Linked DNA regions of Homo sapiens: region 2 is linked to region 1. Evidence: promoter capture Hi-C in 16 types of primary human blood cells and fetal thymus (Javierre and others, 2016). All regions are on one chromosome and are shown on one strand. Each heading gives the region's core, a stretch centred on a gene start or on the middle of the fragment in contact. The rest is flanking DNA. Distances are from core to core; before and after follow the strand shown.

The links. The method cuts DNA at HindIII sites, captures the fragments that hold promoters and counts their contacts. A CHiCAGO score of 5 or more calls a contact.
Region 2: a contact is called between a fragment that was not itself captured here and the fragment with the promoter of LXN in region 1, in 1 of 17 cell types (erythroblasts). The highest score is 7.6, in erythroblasts.

Annotation. Positions count from the first base shown.
Region 1 is chr3:158,671,099-158,674,478 of GRCh38, forward strand. LXN (latexin) reads right to left here and starts at 1,550. Exons shown (of 6, transcript NM_020169.4): 1 at 1,252-1,550. The coding sequence starts at 1,380. The region is part of intron 13 of GFM1 (G elongation factor mitochondrial 1); the gene reads left to right. RefSeq lists enhancers at 767-1,359, 874-933, 1,360-1,952, 1,374-1,423, 1,734-1,923. The HindIII fragment of the contact is 4,555 bases long and covers 1-3,380 here.
Region 2 is chr3:158,741,082-158,744,702 of GRCh38, forward strand. LOC100287290 (a long non-coding RNA gene) reads left to right here. Exons shown (of 5, transcript NR_171782.1): 4 at 949-1,063. Among named protein-coding and RNA genes, the nearest start is that of RARRES1, 10 kb to the left of the region's middle. The HindIII fragment of the contact is 334 bases long and covers 1,614-1,947 here.

The DNA.
Region 1 (3,380 bases), core at 300-2,799:
TTTGGTTGGAGGGGCTGGCTGAAGGGGAATGGTGAAAGCCTTAGGTCTTGAAAAAGGCATGTCACCATGAATGTAACATCTAATTTAGCAAGTCCCCTATCAAGTTTATTTTGGATGAAAACAAAAGAGTAGGATAAAAGCATACAAATTGGGCACAATTCACTTTCAATCATCAAAAGACTTTATTTAACCCCTGGATCTGTGATCTTAAAGTCTCTACATAAGAAAGTTTGAAACAGCGTTTAATTCTAAAGATGACAATATCACCTTTGAAAAGATTTTTTCATAAAGCTCAGTGTACCCTCCAAATAATGTTCAATGAATGTGAATTTCATTTTGAGGCAGATTACTGCAAAGCAATTGGAGACTTAATACAATTAAGTATTGTTTTTACTTATACATTAGTGAAACTGCAAAATGATTAACAAATTATATAAGACTAAGAAATGGTATTTCACTTTTAAATCAAGATACAGATTGAAAATTTATACCTAATTCTGTTATCTGGTACAGTTTCAAAATAAGATCTACTGTGTCACCTCTAAAAGACTGTTAGCAGTTAAAATTCTGTCAGATAAATAAGGGATAATCTCAAATCCAGTAGATTTTCGTAAAATGAAAACAAACCTCGTTAGTGATTGCTGAGGCCTTAAACATTTAATTCAAGCCTTTAGCAGAGGGTGCACATCATTTAAGGCAGTCATGTGGTAGCGGTGTTTGGGTGGCTAAAGGCCAGCGTCAGCCCACAGTGCTTTTATTCTTTGACTTTGATTGTCAGTTTCTCTTGCTGTTTGTTTCCCCCTTCATTTTGGTCAAAGGGTCTGATAAGGATTTGTCTTAAAATGTAGGCAATAGAGTCTTGGAAGATGGGAGCTTTTGTTGGTCCAGATCAGAGTAGCAGATGAGAAACGTGGCAGCCTTAGTAGTCTTTTGAATGGTTTCTACAGTTTACACTTAAGGAAAGTGCTGCCCCTTACCTAGAGCGTGTTCCCGTTTTCTTGTAACTGTGTGCGTAAAAACTTTGTCTCTGCCTTAAGGTGAAAACAGTCCCGGGCTGTCTCCAGAGACTGGAGTATAGACATTCCCCCAGAAACCTTAATATCTCAAGACCAGATACCAGCAGTGTGTCCTAAAACAGAAGGTGGGTAGGGGGTGGCACGGAGTGTCTGCACCCAAAGGCTGAGACCGCGGGTGAGTGGAGGGAGCGCAATCCTGAAGCCTCTGCTGTCCACCACCCCCTGCTAAACTCACCTCCATGCTGGCTTGTTTGACCTTCTGCACCTCAAACACCCTGTGCGGGGTCCCCTGCTGGTAGTTGATGTAGTTCTGTGCCACCAAGGCCGCCCTGGAGGCTGGGTAGTTGGTCGGCGGGATTTCCATTCCGGATGAGCAGTGACTTCAGGGCTTGGGCTACTCTGGCTTAACGGGACCAGTAGCAGAGCGCCGCCCGTCCTGCTTGCTGCTGGGTCCGGTTGCCGAGGCGGAAAAGTCGCAAGCTCCTTCAGTCAGTCTTCTTCCTCAGCTCCTTCCGACTCCGGAAGCTGCTGTTTGGGCCCAGGCTCCCTGCATCCGAGAGCCCTGGGCTGACTGCTTCTGAGGCCCCGCCCCACTACTGCCTGCAGCGGGCTTCCTTACTCCGCCTGCTGGTTCCTACTGGAGGAGAGGCCAGCATGCTTGTCAGGCACCAGCAGGTGGAGGTGTGGGGAGGGAGTCAGTGGGCTAGGTTCGCTGGGATTGCATCTTTCGTTTCATTAACCTTTATAGAAGTGCAGGGTGGGGCTTTCGCTGATATAGGACATCTCTGAAGACTCTAGTTTCCTGTCCATGGGAAAAAAGTCTGGTTGCTTCGCTTGCATACTGGAGCACAACTTCCTTATACACCGCATGCAGCGTCCCTGGCAGGGCAAGGTACACAGTACTCCAGGTAGTGATTCGATTCCTTCATTTCCCTTCCCCTTATGAGAGTCCAGGAAGAGGCTTGCTCATCCTCAGCTTTTTGTGGGTTTGGACCAGTTCTGCCCAAATCAAAGTATGAGAATCTGCAAACTATAGTATTAAATTGGGAGATTATGTAATTTGGATCAGGAGAAATAAAAAAATGCACCTGTACCCCTCTCCTTTACTAATCTTAAAATGATAAGTTTTGATGTAACGCCATGCTTCCAACTTGAGTCATTTTGAATATTTTACTTCAAGGATTAAAATAAACTTAAAAACTGAACTTATACAAAGCACTCTCTCTGGTATGTGGTCTACCTCATTGCAATGGGCCTATAAACCTGACTTTGTAGAAGTACAGGTTTATCCTTGGTGGTCTTAGGTTAATTGGGCTAGGATAACTTGGAGATTCTACCAAAGTTTGGCCAAGGTCTTCGCTGCCTGGATTGAGACCTTTTTTTCTTTTCTTTTCTTTTTTTTTTTTTTTTTTTTGAGATGGAATTTCACTCTTGTTGCCTAGGCTGGAGTGCAATGGTGCTATCTCGGCTCACTGCAACGTCCGCCTCCTGGGTTCAAGCAGTTCTCCTGCCTCAGCCTCCAGAGTAGCTGGGATTACAGGTGCCCACCACAATGCCCGGCTAGTTTTTTGTATTTTTAGTAGAGACGGGTTTAGGCTAGGCTGGTCTCAAACTCCTGACCTCAGGTGATCCACCCACCTTAGCCTCCCAAAGTGCTGGGATTACAGGCATAAGCCACCATGCCTGGCCAGGACCTTTAACTTGGTAGTAATGCACACACCCAAGACTCTTGAGGTGTATCTCTTTCTGATTATGTAGATTCTGCAGTAAATCTGGATTCTGGACTTTGGCCTCAGTTTCATGCTTATTATTGTCTCCTGGGATTTGGGGGTTCTGATTGACTTTGCCTTTAAATACCATCTGTCTGCTTGCCCATCATCTTGTATCAAATGTCAATGAAACTTTTCTCAGTCTTGTCCGTGTATGAGAAATTTGCTTTGCGAGACACTGTCTTTCACACATGACCTTTTTTTTTTTTTTTTTGGAGACAGAGTTTCGCTCTGTTGCCTAGGCTGCAGTGCAGTGGCGTGATCTCGGCTCACTGCAACCTCCACCTCCCAGGTTCAAGCATTTCTCCTGCCTCAGCCTCCCTAGTATCTGGGACTACAGGTGCACTTCACCACACCTGGCTAATTTTTTTGTATTTTAGTAGAGATGGGGTTTCACCATGTTGAGTTCAGGCAATCCTCCCTCCTCTGCCTCCCAAAGTGTTAGGATTACAGGCATGAGCCACCGTGCCTGGCCTCTCCACGTTTCTTAGTTCAGCATTTGTTAAACCCTGACCCACCCATGGCAATATTTTTGCAAATACAGAATATCAGCCAATTTTCGATGGGGTTGTCAGATACGAACTTACACTGTCTC
Region 2 (3,621 bases), core at 531-3,030, 70 kb after region 1:
ATGCCATGTTCCTGGGCCCATAATGCCTGTCCTGAAGCCCTTGTAGGAAGGCGCTTAGCTGTCCATAGAAAGAACAGAGCCCCTAATCAATGGAGTGAGCTGTGTTCCCAGAGCATTTGGCTTACTGTTCTCTCCTGTGAAGGTGCTTGGGACTCATTGGGGGAATTCACAGTGTCCTAAATATTGTGCCTATAAGCTACCCGAGGTTTATGTGGCTGTGTTGAGTCCCTAGCGATGGTATTTTGCTTTAGGAGCAAGAGCCAGGGCTTGGAGCCTTCAGCATTATGCCCACAGCCCACCAGACTCTCAGCAGGAAGGCAAAGGTCGCAGTGCAGATGACCCTTGAATCTGGATTTGGGCTGCAATGGAACAGTTAACTAGAGTTTTCTGAATCTATGAGGTTAAAGAAGAAGCCTTTCCAGCTTGAATCTAGTGAGACTGAATTCTTTGGGGATGCGGAACTGGAGATGAGGTTCTTTCTAAAAGAGATGCCACAGAAAACGGGGTGATTGCATTTATTCCTGTCACCAAGGAAAGATTTTACATGGCATAGTTTAGGTAGAAAGATTTCACATGACATAGTTTAGGTAGACACTGACATGGATGTGTTTGGAAGTGTCAACACCCAACGGGATAAGGTAATCAGCCCTGTCTAAGAGAGCTTTCTGATGACAATGATCCATATCTGCACCAGCTACATGTGGCTACCAAGTGCTTAAATTATGGCCAGTGCAGTCTAAGAACAGAATTTTTAATTGTATTTAATTTAAATAGATTTAAATATACATAGCCACATATATTTACATGGTGTCTGATGATAACTGTATCATACAGCACAGTTATAGACAATTGACTTTTCTCTATAGTACTTCGTTTGGGAAGAGAAAGAGCAAGTAACATTTTGTGGAGCTGTGTTTCAGACATGATGCTATATGCTTTCTCTTACAGAATAATCTTGTTTAATCTCCACAAGTTTGAGGACTAAACTGGGTGCCACAGAGAATTAAGTAACTGGTCGAGGTTGTATCAGTAAGAAGGGAGCACGGAACAGATTCAAGCTCAGGTATGGCCCACCCAAGTGCTGCTTGTACATTCCACAATTGGGTAGACTCTGATTTACTTAAGGGTTTCGATTACAGTGGCAAAGTGAATTAAGGGCCAGGAAATGTGGCTTTGTGGTTAGGTAAGTTGAGATTATTTCACTTGAAGAGAAGAATACAGAAGAAGTCACTCAATCTTTAGAACTATATTCAAAGATCATTTCCTTTTTTTTCTTTTTTTTTTCTTGAGATGGAGTCTCACACTGTCACCCGGGCTGGAATGCAGTGGTGTGATCTTGGCTCACCTCCCAGGTTCAAGCGATTCTGCTGCCTCTGCCTCCCGAGCAGCTGGGATTCCAGGTACCCACCACCACACCCAGCTAATTTTTTGTATTTTCAGTAGAGATGGGGTTTCACTATGTTGGCCAGGCTGGTCTTGAACTCCTGACCTCAGGTAATCCGCCTGCCTCGGCCTCCCAAAGTGCTGGGATTACAGGCGTGAGCCATCATGCCTGGCCTCAAAGATCATTTCTTAGAGAAGAACAGCTAGCTGTCTCTGTCACCATTAATGAAAGCTTCATTTTTTTCTGGTTTACCTGGGGGCTATGGAAGAAGTGATAAAGCCTTGTTTCTGACATGGGCATTTCTCCACATCTCAGGGAGCCTGGTTGGACTTCAGGCCCCTGTGAGGCTGACTCTGTAGTCCTGGAGAAACTCAACAGCCAGGAACTTAGGACCATTTGTGTGTGGCATTTGGGCTAACCAGACTGGTGGCTTCTAAAGAAGATGGAAAGCATCACGTTTCCTGTATTTAAATTATTTGGTGATCTCAATACTGGTTGTTAGCCAAAGTACACAATGGAGACAGCCTATTTGCTCTACTACTTTTGATGTAGAAATATTACTAAGCTTGAGCTGATTAATAGAACTGTTACACATTTCTGTGCTCCCCTTACTGGTGGCATGAAATAATTCTTTTAAAACCTGCCATGTGTTCACATTTAAAACTAAAAGTAATTTAGATTACATGGATTTGAGAAGCCCATGTTGACACGTAATTGCCAACAGATGGGCTTTCAAATGTAATGAAGTGAAAATGGTCAGTACCCCATGTGTTGGATTTTGCAATTTTCCAAAGTAAGCTGTCATTTTTGGCATGTCATGCTAGTTAAGAACACAATGTATTTATAGCTCAATTATACATTTTCTGATGAATTTGGCATGGCATTTTGTTTTTCCATCAGTCACTTAAGACAGGACATTTGCCATTCCAAGAATGAATTAACACTCTTCTAAGTGATCTATAAACTGAGATGTAAAATAAATTACAAATTGGGACTGTTTTAGTTTTTCAAGCAAAGGGTGTTTAAATAAAGCTTGAAATCATAAACCTTATTTCCTGTTTGAGAAGATGGTGTATTCATTACAGAGTGAAATAAAGGATTTTAATGTTTTTTTTTTTTTCCGGCAATAATAGTTAGAATCTTACGTTCTTCAAAGAAAATTTCAAAGAAAATTCATAACACTTGTTAATATTTGTATGCCATGAACTTTCTGGAGTGATTGATCTATGCAATTCTGTTTATGACACTGGTGTTCATCAGTGAAATTTGCATAGAGTATGTTATCAAGGCAAACCAAAACCAACTCTTCATACCTCAGGGGAAGGCGTTTTCCCACATGTGGCAGCCTAGATAACAGGACAGTGTGTTAGAAAGCCCTCATTCTATTTTCCCCTCTTCACCATTATTTCTACAGGGTGCACACCAGGGCATATATATAATAGTGAGAGCAAACAGAAGTACTGATAAATCACCTGGCTAATAAATAGACAACACAATCACCTAGATGACTTAGAATACGTGAATACATACAGACAGAGGTTGGTTGATTCCTTGGAGTGTTCTTATGACAGTGCTGATTTGTGTGTGTGGTTAGTTGTTAAAATTTGGTGCTCCTGCAGGGAGGATGATTGGTGCAGGCTTCTGTTCAGCCACCCTGCCCCTAGTTCCATGGAATGTAATGTGCGGTGGGTGGATCTTCAAGTCCAGAAGCAGAAAAGCTGGATTTGTGGGCGTTCAGAAGAGTCAGCAAGTTGTGAGAGCAGCAAGGGGCAGACTGGTCTGGGCAGAAGGTGTGGGCCGAGTGAATGAATTGTAGGGAAGACCAAACAGAACAGCAGTGAACCTGGCTGGAATCATGCCAGTGGCTACTTAGCAGTAAAGGAAAAAGGTGGAAAACCTTGAAGCCCAGCAATGGGCATTTGCTCTTAGAGGGTTCTCTAAAGTCCCTGCACACCTAGCCTTGAAAAGAGCCTACTGTGCACAGGGTGAGTTGGGTTGGATTATTTTTTTGAAACAAATGCCACTGTAAACATGTTTTTCTCTTCACTGGTAAATATCAGAATTATGATGAGGCTTTAGGATAAGGAGATATTATTGTTGGCTAAAATGAAATTCTATCTTGATTCTTAAAGAACTAAGAAGGATGGTACAGGGCAAAGAGCTCTGGTCTGAGAGTCAGAAGGCATGGGGTCTAGTCCCAGCTCAACAACTCAAACTGGCTCAGTCTCTTCTGTGTA